Regions from separate parts of the Homo sapiens genome. Here all the other regions are linked to region 5. Evidence: promoter capture Hi-C in human tissues and cell types (Jung and others, 2019). All regions are on one chromosome and are shown on one strand. Each heading gives the region's core, a stretch centred on a gene start or on the middle of the fragment in contact. The rest is flanking DNA. Distances are from core to core; before and after follow the strand shown.

Region 1 (3,098 bases), core at 412-2,911, 540 kb before region 5:
TGATAATCCGGGCAGTTTCGGTATCATTTACCACTTTAATTTGTGTTGAAAAAGCCTTAGCTTGGTAGCTCCAGCCTTCCTTCTGTGCCTCCATCCCCATCATCCAAAACCCAAAAGCATGCTGTTTGTGAAGGAGAGTAACCATATCCTGAGATGACTCCAATGTGAGATGTTTGTGAACTGAAAGTCATAGTGACCGCCGATCTGGAGTGTCACCCTTTCTCTGAGTTATCACTCTTTCTGCAAAGCTGTCCCTAATTCCCTAAATTACTTTCTCTGTGGCATTCCTCAGATTGAGCACTTACTTACCTGGTATTGTGATGACCTGTGTCTCTCCCCTTGACCGGATTGTGACATCCAAGGCAGGAACCTTGCCTGGTTGATTATGGCGTATTCTTGGACTCTAGCACATGCCTGGAGCATACAGTAAGTAGCTATTCAATAATTATTTGTTGGCCGGGTGCGGTGGCTCATGCCTGTAATCCCAGTACTTTTGGAGGCCGAGGCAGGTGGATCACCTGAAGTCAGGAGTTCAAGACCAGCTTGGGCAACATGGTGAAACCTCGTCTCTACTAAAAATACAAAAATTAGCCGGGCATGGTGGTACATGTCTGTAATCCCAGCTACTCAGGAGGCTGAGGCAGGAGAATCGCTTGAACCCGGGAGGTGGAGGTTGCAGTGAGCTGAGATTGTGCCACTGCACTCCAGCCTGGGCCACAGAGAGAGACTCCATCTCAAAAATAAGTAAATAAATAAAATAATTATTTGTTGAATAACTGAATGGATGTAATCTGAGGTGACAGAGTGACCCACTGTGATCTGAGATAATGTGACCTCTCTTGATTGCAATCTGGGTTGACTGTGAACAGAGTCGGGGCTTTTGATGATTGTGTTGAAGTGTCTGTGATTGTAACCTACAAGGACTGTGATCTGAGGGGTCTGCGCACCGGTGACTGTGGCCTTCAGGCACTAATCTGTCATAAGGACCAGTAGGGATAATGAATGGAGGTGACTGAACTAGTAACCTTGCATGATCGATTGAAGTAACTTGCACTGATTGTGATCTGAAGTGACCGTGAACAAGTTAGTGACGACGCTTTCCACGACTGTCTTGTTGTGACTGTGCTCATGATCTACAGAGTTCTGGCTTCAGATGACCTAAGCCAGTGCTTGGAGCAGCCTTGACGATTGACATGAGATGTGTGCGAGATGCTGAGATTGTTGATCTACCCTGACAGCTGAGGTTATTGATCTGCATTATGAGCTGAGATAACAGATCTGTGGGCCTGGACTCAGACTAGGAATGGTGCTAATATGTGTGTAGTTCTCTTAAGATTTCTGATTTTGTTTTAATATCCTCCCAAATGGCACAGCCCTGTTCGGCCCCACGCCAACAAGGAATAGGGATGAGGACCAGGTTGAGTCAATCCTCACAGAAAACTACCGGAAACACAACGCATCTTCTGGGCCGCGCTGCCGCAGCTGCGGGCAGACCCACCGCCTTGGTCATGGCCTCCTGCACAGCCTGCCCTTCGTTCGGACCCCCTAGCCCTACCCCCACGATCGGTCCGTGGTGCGCCTGCGCGGAGGCGGGGCGGTGCTTTGCCCTTTGTTGTGGGCCCCAGTTTCCCAGGACACCGCGCGGCGCTGGGGTGGGGCTATGCAGATGAGGCACTCGGGGGCGGGGCGGCGGCGGCGGCGGCGGCGGTGGCGGCCGGGGAGGGTCAGTTGGAGGCAGGCGCTCGCTGAGGCAAAAGGAGGCGCTCGGCCCGCGGCCTGACAGGGACTTAGCCCGCAGAGATCGACCCCGCGCGCGTGACCCCACACCCACCCACTCATCCATCTATCCACTCCCTGCGCCGCCTCCTCCCACCCTGAGCAGAGCCGCCGAGGATGATAAACACCCAGGACAGGTAACGGCCCGGCCCAGGCTCCCCGCCCCCATCCTCCCTCATCTGCTCCAGAGGGCCTCTCACGTACCCCTAGCCGGCCCCCGCCCCCCGCAGCGGGGCCATCCGCCCCCAGCCAGGTCCGTTCACCACTTCAGCCACCCTAGTCCGGTCCTCAGCCCTGCAACTGGGCCTTCTTCTGTCCTTTAGCCCCCTCTTCAGCCGGGCCCATCCCCCTCATCCGGGCCTTCTCCTCCCCTAAAGCCCCCAAAAGCCGGAACCCAACCTTCCAAGCAAGTCCCCTTTTTTCTTTCAGCCCCACCGAATTGTGCCCCATTCCCCAAACTGGGCTTTCCCCGGCATCCAGATTCCCCAAATTGTTTCCTGTCTTCCTCAAATCTTTCTTACTCCCCTTATAAGTCACTTCACCCTTCCCTTTGAATTCCCTCCCTGATGAAAACTGCACCCCCCACCCAGACTCTTCTCATATCACTGCCCCCCGCAAAGTCAACCTCCATCCTTCAGTTCTCAGTTTACCCCCACTCATCACCCTCCCCCCATTCTCTTCAGGCCTAGCAGTCCTTACACAGATGTCCAGCCTCTTCCTCCTGGTCCCATACTTCAGCTTCATCTTTCCCCCACCTTCCCCTCTCCACACCCCTCTCCCAGTTAGGCCCCATTTTCCCAGTCTCCCAGCGCCATTCCTTTTATTTATCAAACACCAGGTTTGATTCTTGTGCTCCATCCTGTTGCCCCAATGGTATACCCCCAACACTCTTGGAAACATTCTTACCCTCTAAACATCTTTTCTCAGCTGGAACTCATCCTTCTCCTTCCCCTCTTAACTGAATCCCGTCTTTGGATCATTAGATCACAGGACCCAGCCATCTCGCTTCCAGTGAACCTTCCCCCTGTACCTCCAGTGCCTTCAAACCAAGCTCTATATTCTGGACACTAGATCTTTGCAATTTCCTCCCTCAAAACCCGACCCTAGTCTTCCCCCATTAATTAGAGAAAGGCTGCACATCTTTCTCAGACCGAGCACCCTGGTTTTCCAAACTTGCATGGTATATCCTTCCCCCTGCAGATAGTTCCTCAATTTTCCTTTCTCTACATGCCTCTCTTTCTCCAAGACAACCCTTCTCACCTATCTCTCCCTCAAATTTTAATATATCCCATATTTCTGCCTCTGTTCTCTGAAACTGTTCC
Region 2 (3,245 bases), core at 696-3,195, 560 kb before region 5:
TATGGATCAGAACCTCAACCAACTTGTGATGGACATTAGAGTGTTGGGGAAGATGGGGAGGAACCTTTGTTGGCTTAAGCAACATAGATTTTGATGTTGGTTGTTATTATAGCATAATTTAGTGGATATGCTACAAAGGACATATATGTCTCACCCATCCTATATCTTTTTTTTTCTGAGATGGAGTCTTGCTCTGTCACCTGGGCTGGAGTGCAATGGCACGATCTCAGCTCACTGCAACCTCCGCCTCCCGGGTTCAAGTGATGCTCCTGCCTCAGCCTCCTGAGTAGCTGTGATTACAGGCATGTGCCACCACGCCTGGCTAATTTTTGTATTTTTAGTAGAGAGGAGTTTTGACATGTTGGCCAGGCTGGTCTCGAACTCCTGACCTCAGGTGATCTGCCCACCTCGGCCTCCCAAAGTGCTGGGATTACAGGCTTTTTTTTGTTTTTTTTTTGAGACAAGTTCTCACCCTGTTGCCCAGACTGGAGTGCAGTGGTGAGATCATGGCTCACTGAAGCCTCGACCTCTCAGGCTCAAGTGATCCTCCCACCTCAACTGCCTGAATAGATGGGATTACAGGCATGTGCCATCACATCTGCCTAATTTTTGTATTTTTATTTTTATTTACTTGTTTATTTTTTTGAGAGAGTCACCCTCTGTCACCCAGGCTGAAGTGCAGTGGCACGATCTCGGCTCACTGCAACCTCTGCCTCCTGGGTTCCAGTGATTCTCCCTCACTCTCCCGAGTAGCTGGGATTAAGGTGCACGCCACCACACCGGGTTAATTTTTTTTTTTTTTTTTTTTGAGATGGAGTCTTGCTCTGTCGCCCAGGCTGGAGTGCAGTGGTTGGGATTACAGGTGCGCACCACCACACCTGGCTATTTTTTTTTTTTTTTTTTTTTTTGAGACATAGTCTCGCTCTGTCACCCAGGCTGGAGTGCAGTGGCTCGATCTCGGCTCACTGCAACCTCCGCCTCCTGGGTTCAAGTGATTCTCCTGCCTCGGCCTCCTGAGTAGCTGGGACTACAGGTGCAAGCCACCATGCCCAGATAATTTTTGTGTTTTTAGTAGAGACGGGGTTTCACCATGTTGGTCAGGCTGTTCTGGAACTCCTGACCTTGTGATCTGCCCGCCTCGACCTCTCAAAGTGCTGGGATTACAGGCATGAGCCACCGCACCTGGCCTAATTTTTTGTGTTTTTAGTAGAGACGGTGTTTTGCTATGTTGGCCAGGCTGGTCTTAGACCTCTTGCCTGAAGTGATCCTCCCGCCTCAGCCTCCCAAAGTGTGGGATTACAGGTGTGAGCCATCGTGCCTGGCTAATTTTTGTATTTTTAGTAGAGATGGGGTTTTGCCATGTTGCTCCGGTTGGTCTCAAACTCCTGGGCTTAAGTGATCCACCTACCTCAGCCTCCCAAAGTGCTAGGATTATAGGCATGAGCCATCATGCCTGGCCCTTCATCCTAGATCTTAGGAGATCTAGTATGTTGTTGATCTGGTATTTGGTATGTTGGAGATCTGGTATTTGGTATGTTGGGAGATCTTGTATTTGGTATGTTGGGAGAGCTGGTATTTGGTATGTTAGGTGATCTGGTATTTGGTATGTTGGAGATCTGGTATTTGGTATGTTGGAGATCTGGTATTTGGTATGTTGGTGATCTGGTATTCGGTATGTTGGGAGATCTGGTATTTGGTTTGTTGGTGATCTGGTATTTGGTTTGTTGGTTGATCTGATATTTGGTATGTTGGGAGATCTGGTATTTGGTATGCTAGGTGATCTGGTATTTAGTATGTTGGAGATCTGGTATTTGGTATGTTGGAGATCTGGTATTTGGTATGTTGGAGATCTGGTATTTGGTATGTTGGTGATCTGGTATTTGGTATGTTGGTGATCTGGTATTTGGTATGTTGGGAGATCTGGTATTTGGTTTGTTGGTGATCTGGTATTTGGTTTGTTGGTTGATCTGATGTTTGGTATGTTGGGAGATCTGGTATTTGGTATATTGTCTTGATGTGTAAAAATCTCTGGGAATTCAAACAGAAACAGTTTGAAATAGTGATTTCAATATTGAGAAAGTGAATGACTCAAATGACTGTATTATAGATCCTTTCTACAAACTAAAGCTTTCCCAATATTTTGCTTTTGAATGGAAGGACCTGAAACAAATTTTGTTGTCATCTGCTTGATGATTAGGTGGTATTGAGTGACTCTGCTAGAACTTCTTCCTTTCCCAGGTACTTATGTGAATAAGATACCTCAGCATTACCATGTGTGAGATTGAAACGTTGAAATAAAATTGAGCCTAGCCAGGTGTGGCGGTATGTACCTGTAGTCCCAGCTACTCAGGAGACTGAGGCAGGAGGATCACTTGAGCCTAGAAGTTTGAGGCTGCAGTGAACTACGATCATGCCTGTGAATAGCTACTGCACTCCAGCCTGGGCAACACAGTCAGACTGTCTCAAAAAAAAAAAAAAAAAAAAAAGACAACAATAACAACGAAAACACAGCCTAAGCATAATGGCTCATACCTGTAATCCCAGCACTTTGAGAGGCCAAGGCTTGAGCCCAGGAGACCAGCCTGGGCAACAAAGTGAGTCCCTGTCTCTACAAAAAATTAGTTGAGCATGGTCATGCACACCTGTATTCCCATGTACGTGGGAGGCTGAGGCAGGAGACTGCCTGAGCCCAAGAGGTCGAGGCTGCAGTGAACCACATTTGCACCACTGCACTCCAGCCTAGGCAACAGAGCAAGACTCTGTCTCAGAAAAACAACCAACCAGCCAACAAAAACATTGATGCTTATCACTGTCTCACTCTAGCATGAGAACATCTCTCTCAATATAAGTTGTATTTCCTATACAATTTTGTGTCTTATATTTAAGAATTCTTGGCCGGGTGCAGTTGCTCACGCCTGTAATCCTAGCTAGCACTTTGGGAGTCTGAGGTGGGTGGATCACCTGAGGTCAGGAGTTTGAGACTAGCCTGACCAACATGGAGAAACCCTGTCTCTACTAATAATACAAAAATTAGCTGGGCGTGGTGGTGCATGCCTATAATCCCAGCTACTCGGGAGGCTGAGGCAGGAGAATCGCTGGAACCCGGGAGGCAGAGCTTGCGGTGAGCTGATATCGCGCCACTGCACTCCAGTCTGGGCAACAAGAGTGAAACTCCATCTTGGGGGAAAAAAAAAATGCTGGGCGCAGTGGCTCACGCCTATAATCCCAGCACTTTGGGAGGCTGA
Region 3 (3,107 bases), core at 257-2,756, 540 kb after region 5:
CCTGTAATCTCAGCCACTTGGGAGGCTGAGGCAGAAAATTGCTTGAACCAGGGAGGCAGAGCTTGCAGTGAGCTGAGATTGTGCCACTGCACTCCAGCCTGGACAACAGAGCAAGACTCCATCTCAAAAAAAAAAAAAAAGAATGTGTTTTATTGATGCTGATGCATGGTACAGTTATTAACTTATTTATGTCTGCCACCATCTAAGAAAAATTTCATATTGACTTCCTCTCTTCCTCTTTCTAATTGAATGTCTGTATATTTGTGATTTATTCCCAGCTCGGCTTAGGCCATACCAACCATGTTCGAGAACCAACCCTGGTAACAGGTCTGCAAGGGAAAAATGTTCGGCAGATCTCGGCTGGCCGCTGCCACAGTGCTGCATGGACAGCACCACCTGTCCCACCAAGAGCACCAGGTGAGGAATGAAATATTCATGCTCCTGCAGCGTTTCTTTTTTAGCAGTACCCCATGGCACTGTCTGCTTGCCAGTTCCCAACTGTATCCAGCATCGTTGTGAAACCATCAAGCCTTCTGCCACACAAAGCATTCTTTGTGCTACTAGCACTGGAAGTATTTTCATAGCAGGCATTTGTTCTGCTGACATCAGTATGAACCACGTCCTCTCTGCACTCCCAAAAGCAGAATACATATTACTTATGCAAGCAAAAATTTATAATTTTAGCAGCAACTAAGTTTTTTTTTGAGATGGAGTCTTGCTCTGTCACCTAGGCTGGAGTGCAGTGGTGTGATCTCAGCTCACTGCAGCCTCCGCCTCCCAGGTTCAAATGACTGCTGCCTCAGCCTCCCAAGTAGCTGGGACTACAGGCATGCACTACCATTCCTGGCTAATTTTTTCTGTTTTTAGTAGAAACGGGGTTTCGCCATGTTGGCCAGGCTGGTCTCAAATTCCTGACCTCCAGTGATCCGCCCGCCTCAGCCTCCCAAAGTGTTAGGATTACAGGCATGAGCCACAGCGCCTGGCCGGTATTTTTAATATATAAAAGAAATGACAAATTATAGCTTTCTAAGGCCCACTGTTAGAAATAAAGATTAAAAGCCCTGAGACCATTTGTCAAATTCCTCACCTTAGTTAACCATTTGAAACATGATGTCTGTGCATTGGCACAGCAGTCAACTTGCTGCCATTTTATTCCTGTGTTTAGCAAGACTGGTGGGCTACTTCAAGCTTTTTGTTGTTTGTTTTATTTTTAATTTATTATGAAATTTTTGTATAGCTACACAAAGATTTAAAGAAAACCATAATACATACTTGTGTGCTCAACACCCAACTGTGGGCCCTTTCTGATTTGATCTATCTTCCATTCCTTCCAGATGTAGCTGTTACCTTAATGTTGTGACATTTGTCATTCTTACACATTTCTTCATATTTGGGCAGTTTCCTTTTTTTTTTTTTTTTCGAGACAGAGTCTCACTTTGTTGCCCAGGCTGGAGTGTAATGGCGCAATCTCGGCTTACTGCAACCTCTGCCTCCCGGGTTCAAGCGATTCTCCTGCCTCAGCCTCCCACGTAGCTGGGATTACAGGCATGTGCCACCACGCCCAACTCATTTTAATATTTTTAGTAGAGATGGTGTTTCGCCATATTGGCCAGGCTGGTCTTGAACTCCTGACCTCAAGTCTGGAGTTCAAGCCTCAGCGTCCCAAAGTGCTGGGATTACAGGTGTGAGCCACTGTGTCCAGCCTATTGGACAAGGCCCTCAAGCCTTGTCTTTCTACCATCTTCTGGTGTCTAAGGCACTAGAATTTCCCTGAAGCAACATTGTGCCTAAGAGCTCAGCATTCTCTTCCAGTTTTGTTAACCCCTCTATTTCTTAGGGGGGGTCCTAAGATTCCCCATAGGGATTTTGTTTCTTAGATATCTAAGAGAGAAAAGTGGGAATTCCAGGTAGATGCCAAACAAGCAGGAAATGGTTTCTATTAACAGAATCTAGAATGAGCAGAGCTGCCTACGCACTGACAATTTCAGGTACTCAGTGGCTTCAGAGGGATTTCACTTCCACTTTAGGGCAGAAGCTATCCAGTGTGACAGGTAAAGGTTCAAGCTCTGGGGCCACATTGCTGGGGCTGAATCCCAGCTCCTCCACATATGATCTGAGTGACCTTGAGACTCAGTGTTTTGTCTGTAAAATGAGGATAATAATAGCACCTACTGCAAAGAGCTGTAGAAGTAAGTGGCCCCATTCATGTAAAGCTCTTAGAATAGTGCCAGGCACATAGAAGGTACTCAGTAAATGTTAGTTTTTACTACGAACAATAATAATAAATCTAGGAATTGCACTGTACCAGTCTTTATTTACAGGAAACTGAAGTGAGTTTGTATCTTGTTTTTATTCTTTTATGTGTTTTTATAGGAGGGTAGCTGTGGCTGCAGGCCTTGTAGTCTTTGCTTCTTACAGAACTCTTATTCTTGTAGTAAAAGCCTCATGAATCATGCACCTATATGTTTCTGTCATGAATACTTGCTATCAGATCCCTAGTGAATATGGAGTTGGCTCTGCTAAGTTTCCCATTTCCATTTTCCAGAACTGCCTACTTAGTCCTTGCCCACATTTGTGGTATTATGAAGATGACAATTATTAAATATGAAAGGAAAAATTTGGCTTTATTTTTGTGAAAGAACTGCCTAAGTTCTATTGTTAAATAAAATGGGAAACAAAAAGAGAAAATACCAGGTTTCATTTCCATAATAATGAAGACATTTTATTTTATTTTATTTTTTTCTCCGCCCCCTGATAAAGACATTTTAAAAACCAACACAAATGCACACACCAAACTAAGATGAATCGATGGATAGAGGTTTGAATGGGTGTCCATTGTGTAATTATCTCAACTTCTCTGTATGCTTGAAATTTTTCAAAATGTGAAAAGTGAAAGCAATGCTGTTTCCTTCATAAGTGCCCATTTGCTTTCTGGACAGGTGTGTCAGTACCTCTGCAGCTGGGCCTGCCTGACACAGTGCCCCCCCAGTATGGGGCGCTGAGAGAAGTCAGCATTCACACGGTGCGGGCCAGGCTCCGGCTGCTCTACCACTTCTCTGACCTCATGTACTCATCCTGGAGACTGCTGAACCTTAGCCCCAACAACC
Region 4 (3,373 bases), core at 447-2,946, 830 kb before region 5:
TCTTTGGATGACTACCTGGTAGTGGGATTGATGAATCATATGGTAGCTCTATTTGTAGTTTTTAGAGGAACTTTTACGCTATTGGAAATGTCTTTAGACCAATAGGAGCAAAAGAATTTTCAAGTAGGGAAGGATCTATATAACTCAAAATTTCTTTTTAGAGATGATGAAACAGGGGCCTAGCAACAGCTAGGTAGTGACAATACTAGGATTAGAACCCAAAGACTACAGGAGATTTTGTTTTAAAGAAGGATTTTATTCTTCATTTGGTTTGGGGGACAAAAGAAACATTTCTGAGCATAAAATTGAGTTCTCGAGAATAGCTACCCAAAGGATGTTTGTTGCTTTATACTTTGTATTTAAGTCAGTTCAACCTATTTTCACCATTTTTCTTCATATTTATCAAACAATTTCAAGGTGAAAATATATGACTTTGAGGGGCAGAGTCTTAGAGTCAACAAACCTCACATGAGCCTAGCCCTGCCACTGACTGTAAGCCTAGGCTGGTTACTGAGCCTCTCCATGTATGGCCCTATCCATGAAATTAAAATTGTACCTACTTTGCAAAGATTGTCATGAGGAATAGAAATAATATACTTGGTTAGGCGTGGTGGCTCACACCTATAATCCCAGCACTTCGGGAGGTCTACGAGGGAGGATCACTTGAGGTCAGGAGTTCGAGACTAGTCTGGCCAACATGGCAAAACTCTATCTCTACTAAAAATACAAAAATTAGCTGGGCATGGTGGTGCACGCCTGTAATCCCAGCTACTCGGGAGGCTGAGGCAGGAGAATCGCTTGAAGCCGGGAGGCAGAGGTTGCAGCGAGCCAAGATCAAGCCACTGCACTCCACCCTGGGTGACAGAGTGAGACTCCATCTCAAAAAAAAAAAAAAAAAAGAACTCACCTAGCACAGTGTCTGAAGAAACACAGTAGGTTCGCAATATCACTATTATTAGCTAACATTTTTTGAGGGCTAGCCATGTGTGTAAGGACTTGACCTGGACTGTCTCATTTTATCTTTACAATAACCAAGTGAAGCAGATACTGTTATTGATCCTCATTTTTCCAGAATTTTAAATAGCTACTCAGCGGTGGAGCTGGAACGTATGCCCTGGTAACCTAGATTCCAATCAGTGTGCCTAACTAATCTATTGCCATGAGTCTATTTGCAAATATTTTTATCCTTGATTAGGGAATTTAATGTGTTTGGCTTTGGTGCTCAGAAAAAAAGAAATGGGAACACATGCCAATTGAATGCCCATTATATGCAGGTACTATGCTAGACAATTTCAAAAATATTTTATTTTAGTTACTATTTCATCAGTCTTATTTTTTTTTATTTTTATTTTTTTAGAGACAAGATCTCACTATGTTGCCCAGGCTGGAGTGCAGTAGCTATTCATAGGCACAATGATCACACACATAGCCTCAAATTCCTGGGCTCAAGTATCCTCCTGCCTCAACTTCCCAAATAGCTGGGACTACAAGTATGCACCACCATGTCCAGGTAATCACTGTCTTTTTTTACCTCTAAGATTTATAAAGTTTTCTAAGACACCACAGATAGAAGCTATCTTTTGTAGTAAAGAAGTGCAGCTCTTGCTTTCCACTAATTTTTATTGCTGCTCTTCTACCAGAAGGTAGATTATCCATTGTTATTTACATTAATTATTTACATTGTTTACATTGTTGAAACATTGAGATGCTAGGTTGACAGATGATACAAAATATGTGGTACCTTTGCTTAGAAACTTTTATTCTAAAAAGTTAATGGACAAACGTTAACTTTTCTGAGAGATTAAAATACTGCTTCCGTTAAATAAGCATTTTTGTGTGTAGGCTGTTTTTTTTTGTTTGTTTGTTTGTTTGTTTTGAGACGGAGTCTTGCTCTTTCGCCCAGGCTGGAGTGCAGTGGCACTATCTCGGCTCACTGCAATCTCCGCCTCCCGGGTTCACACGATTCTCCTGCCTTAGCCTCCCGAGTAGCTGGGACCACAAGCGCCCGCCACTACACCCGGCTAATTTTTGGTATTTTTAGGAGAGACAGGGTGTCACCGTGTTAGCCAGGATGGTCTCAATCTCCTGACCTCGTGATCCACCCACCTCGGCCTCCCAAAGTGCTGGGATTACAGGCATGAGCCATCGTGCCTGGCCTGTTTTTTTTTTTTTTTTAAAGTTTGATTGGAAGCAAGAAGGAGGAGGAATATTATCAGAGAAGGGCAGCTTTGAGGAAAGACTGCTGTAAAGATGTAAAGATCCTTATTTTTTTTTTTGAGATGGAGTTTTGCTCTTTTTGCCCAGGCTGGAGTGCAATGGTGCGATCTCGGCTCACTGCAATGTCTGCCTCCCGGGTTCAAGCGATTCTCCTGCCTCAGCCCCCTGAGTAGCTGGGATTACAGGCACATGCCACCACCCTGGCTAATTTTGTATTTTTAGTAGAGACAGCGTTTCTCAATGTTGGTCAGGCTGGTCTTGAACTCCCAACTTCAGGTGATCCACCTGCCTCAACCTCCCAAAGTGCTGGGATTACAGGCGTGAGCCACCGCGCCCAGCTGTAAAGATTCTTTGACAAATCTCTTATAAATTTATAAAATCTAAAATCTTAGAATTGGAAAGAACTTACAGATAATTTAGTTTAGCCTTGGCCTCATTTTACAGAGAAGGAAACCAGACCTAGCAGAGGATATGTTTTGCTCAAAGATAAAACTCAGGTTTCTGAACTCCTAGATGACAACTAATACATTATTAATTAAAAATAACTATATATAACTTCTGTTTGATAATGCCTTTAGGTAGTAACCTCTAAAATAGCCACATCAGCATTTTTCTAAGCCAGTTCCTGAATACCCACTTTGTGTCTGATTCCTCCAATCCAGTGCAGTATACATTTTACATAGACTTGGTCTGGCAATGAGGAAAGAGCATTCATTTTCAATCTTGGGTCTCAGCATAATTTGGTATATAACACTGCAATCGACTGTACCCTGTAAAGCTTTAAGGGGATGGTATTCCAAGAATTAGTATTAGTCTGAAAAAGCAAGTGTTTTGTTTCTCTTTCACTTTTTTACACATCCGTGGTTCCTGGGGGTAAAATAAATGTTTTCACTCTAATGGGTGCACTGGAGGGAGGCATTCTAAATGGAAGGAAGGCATATACAAAAGCCTAGAGGCTTCCTGAGACATCAGGAGGTGTTTGGGGCCCTTCAAGCAGTTGGTATGACTAGAGCACTTTGGCCCCACAGAGATCTGAGTCAAGAGCCAGACCTGCTCTACTCTGCATACCTTGAACTTTAGCTTGAAGGCAGTGGGGAGCTATTGAAGGATTTATAGCAGAGGAATTACAGAAATATAGTTGCTTTTAATTATTATT
Region 5 (3,348 bases), core at 60-2,559:
TATAACAATGTTTAAAACTTCCTCCTGATTGGGGTTGTCTGAATTGAGGTGCAAGGATGGGAAATAAGAGAACTGTCTTGAAGCTCTACAACCTGTGTAAGGCCGCTGTAATGAACAACAAAGTTAATGCCAGTGGCCTTGCATAACTTCAGTCTCAGGTCAGCGCCTCATGAAGACTACATTGCATAATTTATGTAAATGGAGCCCTGCCTATAATCTGTGCTGTGACGACCTGGAATTTCTACGAAGTTAATCGTTGAAAATTAGTTTTAAAGACGTTTTAACGCCATAGGTCCAAATTTTGGAAGTTTGTGTTTTGGTTTGTTTTGGTGTGTAAGACTCCCAGTACCAAAGTATCTATGTTGTAGATTGGGACAACACTAAGTGTGTGAAGACCTAAAATAGCCCTGTGGGGACATCTAGTAACTATTCCTGACCTCCGGAAAAAGGCATTGTATCCTCAGGCCGTGGCATAAATTATTTCTCATGTCAGTGCGGATGTGAAGCTATCCCAACCAGGACTTGTTGGGCACTCAGTACTGCCGCGCTGTGAGGGAGCTGTGGACAGAGTAAATGCAACACAGTCCCTTCCGCAGAAAAAAAAAAAAATGTAGTCTATTGGGGGAAAAGGTAAAGGAAGTTAAGAACAGCGTATACAATAAGATGTCCATTGATATACACAACAGTAAGCACAGCAAGATTACAGAAGGGAGAGAAAAATGGGTAGTAACTTGACGGCCTCAGTAAAAAAGGAAGTGGGTTGTGCAGCAAGTTTTGCAAGACAAGTGGAGGAGCCGTACAAGGCCACGCTCGGTAAGGATAAATGTCCCTGAAGTGTTTGGAAGCCACAACGTTTAGAGCCAATTTGGCGGTGACAAACACTTGACTGGCCCAAAACAGTGACAAGCTTCCCGTGCCCCTTGTCCAGGCCCACGTATTTGCTAACCTCAAGCGCCAGCTACCGCAGGCCAGTGGAACAGCGCTCCGGGCGGGGCGGGCCGCGGAGCATGCCGGGGCTTGTGGTCTTCTCGGAGCCCGGGCCCGTGCTCTGCGAGGCCGCCTTCCGCCGGTGGCCTTCCTGTGGGCGGGAGAGGGCGGCCGGGAGCCCAATGAGGGAGCAATAACGTGGCAACCACCCACGAGCCCGCGTCGGTGCCCGCCCCGCAGGGGGACCTACTATCCGGCGCCGAGCCGGAGGGGGGAAACGGCGCCCGCCGCCCGCCCGGAGCCCGCGAGCAACCCCAGTCCCCCCCACCCGCGCGTGGCGGCGCCGGCTCCCTAGCCACCGCGGCCCCACCCTCTTCCGGCCTCAGCTGTCCGGGCTGCTTTCGCCTCCGCCTGTGGATGCTGCGCCTCTCCGAACGCAACATGAAGGTGCTCCTTGCCGCCGCCCTCATCGCGGGGTCCGTCTTCTTCCTGCTGCTGCCGGGACCTTCTGCGGCCGATGAGAAGAAGAAGGGGCCCAAAGTCACCGTCAAGGTCCGGTGGAGTCCGCGGCATTTACGGTGCCGGAGCTCGGGCCCGGGCGGCCTTGGCTTGGCCTTGGCTCAGCCCCTCCTCCCTCGGCTTCTGTCTGTGGCCTCGTGGCGTCTGGGCCGTCCTGCCCATTCAGTCCAGGGAACGACCCGGACCCACCCCGACACCCCCAGCCCCTGCCCTGACCCAGGGAGTTAGTTGGATCCCCGGATACCCATCTGGGGCCGACACTGGCAGTCTCAGAGCAGGCTTTTTGCAAACACCCCTCAGTGCTGGGGAGATGGTGAAAGATCACGCCTGCCGGATTCCGAATCCTTTCTCTCCTTAAGCCAAATTTTAGCCACTTCCAATTACAAAGCACAGTATGTATACTTCAAACTTAAGTGGTGAACTTAGGCTCCGCTCCTTATGGGTTTTCTAATGTTAATTTTTAGAATCTGGGTCCATTAGCTGTTTAGAGCAAATATTGTTATCCTGTAGTCCAAGGAGGGTATAGATAAGCATGTTTTCCAAGAAAAGGGTCTGGAGCTTTCATTAGATTCTCATAGGATTTTTACCGTCACCAAAATCAGATTCAGAACCACTTCTCTAAAAATATGGCTCTATTCTCTCTCCCATCCTCAGGTTAGCTTCTTGTACCTTCCCTCCCCTAGCAACGCCCCTTTAAAGAAGCTAAGTTGGAAATGGTCTCTTTCCTCAGGTGTATTTTGACCTACGAATTGGAGATGAAGATGTAGGCCGGGTGATCTTTGGTCTCTTCGGAAAGACTGTTCCAAAAACAGTGGATAATTTTGTGGCCTTAGCTACAGGAGAGGTAAGTGGCTGGAGCAGGGGTAGTCAACTCACATGAAGTGAAATTGGCACTGGGGATGGCAGCAAACTGACCTGCAGAGTTCAGCCGATCTGTAGCGTGGACCTCACTGAGCACCGACTGCCTGTTGCCCTGGGAACACAGTATTGCCCTTTCTTAAGAGTAATGGGGCCCTGACCAGGCACAGTGGCTCACACTTAAAATCCCAGCACTTTTGGAGGCCAAAGTAGGAGGATTGCTTGAGCCCAGGAGTTCAAGGCCAACCTGAGCAACATAGCAAGACCCTGTCTCTACCCCCGCAAATTTTTTTTTTTTTTTGAGACGGAGTTTCACTCTTGTCGCCTGGGCTGGAGTGCAGTGGTGCGGCCTCAGCTCACTGCAACCTCCGCCTCCCGGGTTTAAGTGATTCTCCTGCCTCAGCCTCCTGAGTAGCTGGGATTACAGGCATGCGCCACCACGCTTGGCTAATTTTGTATTTTTAGTAGTGACAGGGTTTCACCATGTTGGCCAGGCTGAACTCGAACTCCTGACCTCTGGTGATCCGCCTGCCTTGGCCTCCCAAAGTGCTGGGATTAGAGGTGTGAGCCACTATGCCCGGCCAAAAAAAATTTTTTTTAATTAGCTGGGTGTGACGGGGTGCACCTGTGGTCCCAGCTACAGCTACTCAGGAGGCTGAAGTGAAATGGAGGTTGCAGTGAGCCATGTTCATGCCACTGCACTCCAGCCTGAGCAATAGAGTGAGACCCTGTCTCAAAAAAAAAATAAATTAATTAAAAATAAAAGGCCGGGCGCAGTAACTCATGCCTGTAGTCCCAGCACTTTGGGAGGCTGAGGCGGGTAGATCACCTGAGGTCAGGAGTTCGAGACCAGCCTGGCCAACATGGCGAAATCCTGTCTCTACTAAAAATACAAAAAATTAGCCAGGTGTAGTGGTAGGCGCCTGTAATTCCAGCTACTTGGGAGGCTGAGGCAGGAGAATTTGTTGAACCCAGGAGGTGGAGGTTGCAGTGAGCCGAGATTGCCCCACTGCACTCTAGCCTGGGCAACAAGAGGGAAACTCC
Region 6 (3,298 bases), core at 261-2,760, 810 kb before region 5:
AAAAAAAAAACAAACCAAAAACAAAATGGTGGAAATGCTTTGGGTGCAGCCAGTGGGGTACTTGTTTCCTAGGAGCCATCCTTTCATTGATTTTATCATTTTAAGTAATTGGTAGGTATCTATGATGCCATACAGCTGGCTTACTGTGCACTTCTTTCATTGCTGGCAAGGCGAGGCTCTAGCCTTAAAATAAAGCCCAGTGGCCAGGTGTGATGGCTCATGCCGTACTCCCAACACTTTGGGAGGCCAAGACAGGAGGATCACTTCAGGCCAAGAGTTTGAAACCAGCCTGAGCAACATAGTGAGACCCCATCTCTACAAATAACAATAATAATAAATTAGCCAGGTATCATGGTATGCACCTGCAGTCCTAGCTACTCAGGAGGCTGAGGCAGGAGGATCGCTTGAGCCCAAGAGTTCAAGGCTGCAGTGAGCCACAACTGTGCCTCTGTACTCCAGGCTGGGTGACAGAGCAAGACCCTACTTCAAAAAAAAAGCCCAGTGAGTAAACACATCTGTATGATCAGTGTTTTCAAATAATGTATAGGGAAATATCGTTTTCACATCTACTTAAAATTGCACTCTGATATTTTTTAGTTTTTTTTGTTGTTGTTTGTTTTTTTGTTTGTTTGTTTTTGAGATGGAGTCTCGCTCTGTCGCCCAGGCTGGAGTGCAGTGGCACGATCTCAGCTCACTGCAAGCTCTGCCTCCCAGGTTCACGCCATTCTCCTGCCTCAGCCTCCCGAATAGCTGGGACTACAGGCGCCCGCCACCATGCCTGGCTAATTTTTTATGTTTTTAGTAGAGACGGGGTTTCACCGTGTTCACCAGTATGGTCTCGATCTCCTGACCTCGTGATCCGCCCGCCTCAGCCTCCCAAAGTGCTGGGATTACAGGCATGAGCCACTGTGCCCAGCTATTTTTTAGTTTTTCTGATGTTATCTTAGTAATTACTCAGCATTCATGCAACAATTTCTTGTATACATTAGCTACTTTACAAATCCTTCCCGTCCAGATAATGCACTAAATAATGCTCATTATTTTTGGTGATTTTTATTGCTGTTCTAATTGTTAGAATGCCAAGACAGCCCCCATTCAGTTTGTGCTCTGGCACATCAGCTGCTTATTGTCAAATATCTGAGTGCTTACTGTGTGCCACACACTGAGGATCCAGGAGTGAGCAAAGTCAACAGGGTCCACCCCTTACAGAGCGTACTTAGACCTCATCACCTTCAAAAGATAAGAAAGTGATGGGGCTGGGAGAGAACTTAGAAAGTTAACTGGAAGGTGACCTAGTGGTCCTTTTGAGGGAAGCTCAACTTCCAGCAAGGCTGTCCCAGTGGTAATAAGCATCAGAAGGTAGTTTGCACCTCATCTAAGTAATTTTCGTCATAGGTTTACAGAAATTAGTGTTTGCCCTCCATGATGGCTCTTAACAGTTGAAATTAATGGAATAAATATAAACTAAAGATCATATATAGAAATCCGTAAAGATCTGACCAGTCACAGTGGCTCACACCTGTAATCCCAGCACTTTGGGAGGCAGAGGTAAGAGCATTGCTTGAGTCCAGGAGTTCTAGACCAGCCTGGGCAACAGAGCAAGATCCTGTCTCTACAGAAAAAAAATTTTCTTTTTTGAGATGGGAGTCTCGCTCTGTTGCCCAGGCTGGAGTGCAGTGGCACGTTCTCACTGCAGCCTCTGCCCCCCAGGTTCAAGTGATTCTCCTGCCTCAGCCTCCCAAGTAGCTGGGATTACAGGCGCTGGCCACCGCCCCTGGCTAATTTTTGTATTTTTAGTAGAGACGGGGTTTCACCATCTTGGCCAGGCTGGTCTTGAACTCCTGACCTTGTGATCACCCACCTTGGCCTCCCAAAGTTCTGGATTACAGGCATGAGCCATTGCGCCTGGCTCAGTAAATTTTTTTTTTTGGAGACGGAGTCTGGCTCTGTCGCCCAGGCTGGAGTGCCATGGCACGATCTTGGCTCACTGCAAGCTCCATCTCCTGGGTTCACGCCATTCTCCTGCCTCAGCCTCCCGAGTAGCTGGGACTACAGGCGCCCGCCACCAAGCCCGGCTAATTTTTAGTATTTTTAGTGGAGACGGGGTTTCACCGTGTTAGCCAGGATGGTCTCAATCTCCTGACCTCGTGATCTGCCCACCTTGGCCTCCCAAAGTGCTGGGATTACAGGCATGAGCCACCGTGCCTGGCCCCGGCTCCCCCAGCTCAGTAAATTTTTAAAAAATTAGTCAGGCCTGGTGGTACGAGCCCGTAGTCCCAGCTACTCGGGAGGCCAAGGTAGAAGGATCACTTGATAGGAGTTTGAGGCTACAGTGAGCTATGATCACAATACTGCACTTCAGCCTGGGCAACAGAGTGAGACCCTGTCTCTAAAAGTTTTTTTTTAAATTTTTTAATTAAAAAATAAAAAGAGGCCAGGAGTGGCTCACGCCTGTGATCCCAGCACTGTGGGAGGCTGAGGTGGGTGGATCACTTGAGGCCAGGAGTTCACCACCAGTCTGGCCAACATTGCAAAAGCTCATCTTTACTAAAAATACAGAAGTTAGCCGGGCGTGGTGGCATGTGCCTGTAGTCGCAGCTACTCGAAAGGCTGAGGCATGAGAATTGCTTGAGCCCGGGAGGCAGAGGTTGCACCCAGCCGAGATCATGCCACTGTACTTCCAGCATGGGTAACTGACTGAGACTCTGTCTCAAAAAATAATAACAATAATAAATTTAAAAAATAAATCTATAAATATCAATTTGCCTTGAATTAGCCAAGTTGAATCTAATAGTAGCAAATTTGGGGAGGTGCAATAGCTTTCATATTGGTATTTTGAAATCTGTTTTGAAATATCAATCGATAAAAACATAATATCAACCAGAAGGAAAGAATACTTCTCTTAATATTCAGTTTTCCAAAAGAAATAGTTTAATCCTTGGAAATAGGGCCAATTAGAGAAAAAAAACAATCTTGGACTCATCAGAATGTCTATCTCAGTAAAGGTATTTTGAAATATCTCTTATAATTATCCTAAATCCTCAAATAAAAGTTTAATTATATGAAGCCATAACTCTTTGGAAGCTTGGGAAAGTGTGTGTAAAAACTAGATGCTGAGCTCTTTGGAGGAGGGGATTAGGACTTTTTATTTCTAGATCCCAAGCTAATACAAAGCTTTAATGTTGAATGAATATTTGCCATGTGTAGTCTTGGAAGTTTAAATTATAAGGTCTTTGTGTTTTACAGCTTTTGGCTGATGCCTGCATTTATGCTCAAAAAAATAGTTCTTGGAAATTTT
Region 7 (3,273 bases), core at 647-3,146, 680 kb before region 5:
GTCAGGAGTTCGAGACCAGCCTGACCAACATGGAGAAACCCCATGTCTACTAAAAATACAAAATTAGCCAGGCGTGGTGGTGCATGCCTGTAATCCCAGCTATTCAGGAGGCTGAGGCAGGAGAATTGCTTGAACCCAGGAGGTGGCGGTTGCGGTGAGCCAATATCTCGCCACTGCACTCCAGCCTGGGCAACAAGAGCGAAACTCCGTCTCAAAAAAAAAAAAAAAGAAAAGAAAGTGACAATGTGAGAGATTCAGGACCAAGGGTGTACAGAGCTGAGCCGGGCCCAGGAGGTGTCCGGAGAACTTCCCTTAATCAGGGGCCAGCGCAGATCAGGAGATGGAGTAATCCTGACCCACATCCTCTGGGAGCAGGGGAGGGGCCCTGGCCAGAGAGCCCAGCCCTTGCAGCAGGGGCCTGGGGCAGGCAGATGGCAGCCCCACCTAACAGCCAGAAAGAAACCGCAGCAAATCACAGAGGCCTGACTTTGCCCCCTACCTTCACCCACTGAGAGAACCGGCCACTGTCAGGCCAGGAGTATGAGGAGGACAGGCACTATATTTTGTAGAAGAGGAAATGAAGGCTGAGAGGGGAAGTGACTTATCTACCATCCCACAGAAAGGCAGGGCCTGGCCTAGAGGGAGCCCTGACGGACCACTAGCTGCTCCTATCCATGGCCCTGGAAAAGTGGGAGGTGGGCACTGAAGGGACACAGGCAGTCCGGTCCACTCAGGGCTTCCCAGCTGGCCAGGGTTCCCCCAAGGCAGAGAACTTCATCTTTCCTCCCCATCCAAGGAGGCAAAGACATGCCCCTTCCCTTGGGCTGAGAGGGGCTGAAGCTGGGACCCCCTCAGGGGATAAGAAACAAATTCACCTTCCTCTAGACCCAACAGGCCCCTCATTTTAACTTAATCATTCCACAGGCATATATTAAGTGCTTGCTGCGTGCTGGACCCTCGGATAAAGCGGCTGCTGGCAGAACTGAGTTTGCAAGTAAAGGGCAGGGGCAGGGGCAAGACCCAATCCCAGGCCAAGAGTGTTTTGAGTGGTTAGAAGGAGGCTCCAGGGACACAGTTGGTCCAGCCCTCGGGTGGGGAAGGCAGGGACTAAGATCAGACCCTAGGTGGGCCGGACTCCCGATTCCTTCCCTACAGCTAGCTGCTCAGATGGATGTGGAGCGGGGAGAGAGTGGGGGAAAAGATACAGAGACTTATACAAGGGAGAAAAAAGCAACTTCTCCAATCCTCCTGCCACCAAAGCATGGTCACATCCTTGAGACAGGAACCCCCCAACACACACATACACACACACACAGAGTCAGGATCCGATCCTTGAGACAGGAACCCCCCAACACACACATACACACACACACACAGTCAGGATCCGACACACACACACACACACACACACACACACACAGAGAGAGAGAGAGAGTCAGGATCCGACCACGGTAATCGGGGTTCGAGCCCAGTCACCCAGGCCACTTTCAGCAAGTCATCAATCTCGCTGGAGTCTCAGTCTCCTGGTCAATCCAATGGGAACGGTAACAACCACGACGCCCCACAACTGGTGAGAAAGTCAGCGAGAATGAAGGAGGACGCGGTCTGCGAAGTCCCCGATATGGATCCAGCCCCTCGCCCCTGCCCCATTTGCCCAGGCTCTTCCTGAGGTGAGACTGGCGGGAGTGGGGCGGGCAGGAACGAGGGCCTGAGCCCAGGACCGCAATCCCCGTGAGGGGCTCGAGGACCCCAGCCCAACGCCCCGCCGGGCCCCGCCCTCACCTCCTCCTCCATGGCGAGTCCGCCGAGGTCCCGCCGCTCCGCCACTCGCTTCCAGCGCCGCGCGGGCTCTGCCACCGCGTCTACGCCCGGCCAGGCGGCGACTCTCCGCGTTCTGTCCCGCCGGCTGCCGGGGGCCCAAGAAACTTCGGGGGGGCGGGGCCGGGGGCGGGGTGAGGCTTCCGGGGGCCGGGGCGGGGCCGGGGAGGGGGCGGTGGGGCCGGGGGCCCGGCCCAGGGCGGGAAATGGGTGGGGAGGGGCGGGGCCTGGGTTGGAGACTGGACGGAGGAGCCGGGCGGAGATGCAACTGGAGGAAGAGGGCGGGACGGGGCGGAGAAGGTTTCCCGCATCGGCGGAGGGAGAGGGACTAGGAGGGGGCTGCGGCGGGGGAGGAGAGGGGGCTTCCGGCCCAGAGACTGAGGCGAGGGTGGCGGGAGCGGCGCGCAGGCAGGGCTGGGGTGGGGCGCACACAGTGAGCGCTGGGGGCGCTGGCGGTGGAGCCTTTGAGGTCTCCCGAACCAGTGGGCTGGGGTTGCGAGACCGAGCCGAGCTGCCCTGGGCGGCCAGAGATGTGGGCACACAGAGGCTCCTCCTCTTTCCTCCCCGACGCCGGGCAGTGGGCGGTGGCCTGGTCTTCTCCCTGGAACCTCTGGGCGGGGCCGGGCCTGGAGCTTGGGTCTCTGTCCGGAGGGTGGTGTCACAGGAAGAGCTGGAGCTGAGAGTCGGGACTCCGGGGTCCCTTTAGGGGGCGGCCCGCCCCTGGCTCTCAGGGGTCTCCAAGCGCAGTGTTCTCCTGCTCTCCTTGGGCATCGCTCAATCCCTCCCGTATCTGAGGGTCGACCATCCCCCCGATCCCGCGGTGAGCTTGCAGCCCTGACAGCCTTACTGGAGAGTGGGAGTGTGGGGACCAGCAGAGAGTAATGATTTTAGTTATACCATGCGCCCTCATTTTACATTGGAGAAACTGAGGCCCAGAGAGAGAAAGTAACTGGCTGCATCGCAGCCTGCAGCACCGCTCCCCTCTCACACACACACGCATACTCCCCCTTAGCTCTCCTGGTCAACCCCGTCCCATGCCAAGGAAGGGAAAATTAAGTGCATGTGAGATCAATGGTGACCTTCTTCGGCTCTGGCTGCCATAGCAGCGGCTGTGCCAGCGACCAAGCTCCCCTTTCACGGCCTTCTGCCAGCCCTCAGGCTCCCAGGCTACTTCCAGCCCTGTACGGAAAAGGGCAGCCTGGGGCTCCCAGGCCAAGGGGGAAGGAGATGCAGGTACACTTCTCCCTCATGCCTAGGCCTGGGATCCTTTAGCTAAAGGAATGAAGAAAATTGAGGCTGATATTATCACACTGGTCAAGAAAAAGAAAGAATAGAAAAGAAAGAGAGAGGAAGGAGAGAGAGAGGAAGGAGGGAGGGAAGGAAGGAAAAAAGGAAAGAAAGAAAAAGAAAAGAAAGAGAAATGAAGGAAGGAAAGAAAGAAAAGAAACAAGGAAG

Evidence for each region. The method cuts DNA at HindIII sites, captures the fragments that hold promoters and counts their contacts. A contact is called where the count stands out against the background at its distance.
Region 1: the fragment with the promoter of OAZ2 here is called in contact with the fragment with the promoter of PPIB in region 5 in 4 of the 25 tissues and cell types used here (dorsolateral prefrontal cortex, hippocampus, lymphoblastoid cells and 1 more).
Region 2: a contact is called between a fragment that was not itself captured here and the fragment with the promoter of PPIB in region 5, in 1 of the 25 tissues and cell types used here (hippocampus).
Region 3: a contact is called between a fragment that was not itself captured here and the fragment with the promoter of PPIB in region 5, in 1 of the 25 tissues and cell types used here (lymphoblastoid cells).
Region 4: a contact is called between a fragment that was not itself captured here and the fragment with the promoter of PPIB in region 5, in 1 of the 25 tissues and cell types used here (dorsolateral prefrontal cortex).
Region 6: a contact is called between a fragment that was not itself captured here and the fragment with the promoter of PPIB in region 5, in 1 of the 25 tissues and cell types used here (lymphoblastoid cells).
Region 7: the fragment with the promoter of PLEKHO2 here is called in contact with the fragment with the promoter of PPIB in region 5 in 1 of the 25 tissues and cell types used here (lymphoblastoid cells).

Annotation. Positions count from the first base shown.
Region 1 is chr15:64,701,844-64,704,941 of GRCh38, reverse strand. OAZ2 (ornithine decarboxylase antizyme 2) reads left to right here and starts at 1,661. Exons shown (of 5, transcript NM_002537.3): 1 at 1,661-1,913. The coding sequence starts at 1,894. It overlaps LOC124903507 (a long non-coding RNA gene), which reads right to left and starts at 399. Exons shown (of 3, transcript XR_007064679.1): 1 at 310-399. RefSeq lists silencers at 1,526-1,845, 1,856-2,075. The HindIII fragment of the contact is 8,869 bases long and covers 1-3,098 here.
Region 2 is chr15:64,722,927-64,726,171 of GRCh38, reverse strand. No RefSeq gene overlaps it. Among named protein-coding and RNA genes, the nearest start is that of OAZ2, 21 kb to the right of the region's middle. The HindIII fragment of the contact is 6,629 bases long and covers 1-3,245 here.
Region 3 is chr15:63,625,987-63,629,093 of GRCh38, reverse strand. It overlaps HERC1 (HECT and RLD domain containing E3 ubiquitin protein ligase family member 1), which reads left to right. Exons shown (of 78, transcript NM_003922.4): 70 at 279-417; 71 at 2,940-3,107. Among named protein-coding and RNA genes, the nearest start is that of USP3-AS1, 27 kb to the right of the region's middle. The HindIII fragment of the contact is 6,017 bases long and covers 1-3,107 here.
Region 4 is chr15:64,992,937-64,996,309 of GRCh38, reverse strand. No RefSeq gene overlaps it. Among named protein-coding and RNA genes, the nearest start is that of SPG21, 4.7 kb to the right of the region's middle. The HindIII fragment of the contact is 7,563 bases long and covers 1-3,373 here.
Region 5 is chr15:64,160,983-64,164,330 of GRCh38, reverse strand. PPIB (peptidylprolyl isomerase B) reads left to right here and starts at 1,309. Exons shown (of 5, transcript NM_000942.5): 1 at 1,309-1,479; 2 at 2,177-2,290. The coding sequence starts at 1,345. RefSeq lists enhancers at 795-844, 951-1,451, 1,395-1,644, 1,452-1,952, 2,186-2,750 and a silencer at 985-1,344. The HindIII fragment of the contact is 5,042 bases long and covers 1-2,408 here.
Region 6 is chr15:64,970,171-64,973,468 of GRCh38, reverse strand. SPG21 (SPG21 abhydrolase domain containing, maspardin) reads left to right here. Exons shown (of 9, transcript NM_016630.7): 6 at 3,247-3,298. Among named protein-coding and RNA genes, the nearest start is that of SPG21, 18 kb to the left of the region's middle. The HindIII fragment of the contact is 8,694 bases long and covers 1-3,298 here.
Region 7 is chr15:64,840,538-64,843,810 of GRCh38, reverse strand. It overlaps PLEKHO2 (pleckstrin homology domain containing O2), which reads right to left and starts at 1,896. Exons shown (of 6, transcript NM_025201.5): 1 at 1,783-1,896. The coding sequence starts at 1,794. It also overlaps a transcript of LOC124903508 not described here. RefSeq lists enhancers at 689-1,240, 1,273-1,796 and silencers at 1,604-2,043, 2,054-2,373. The HindIII fragment of the contact is 9,878 bases long and covers 1-3,273 here.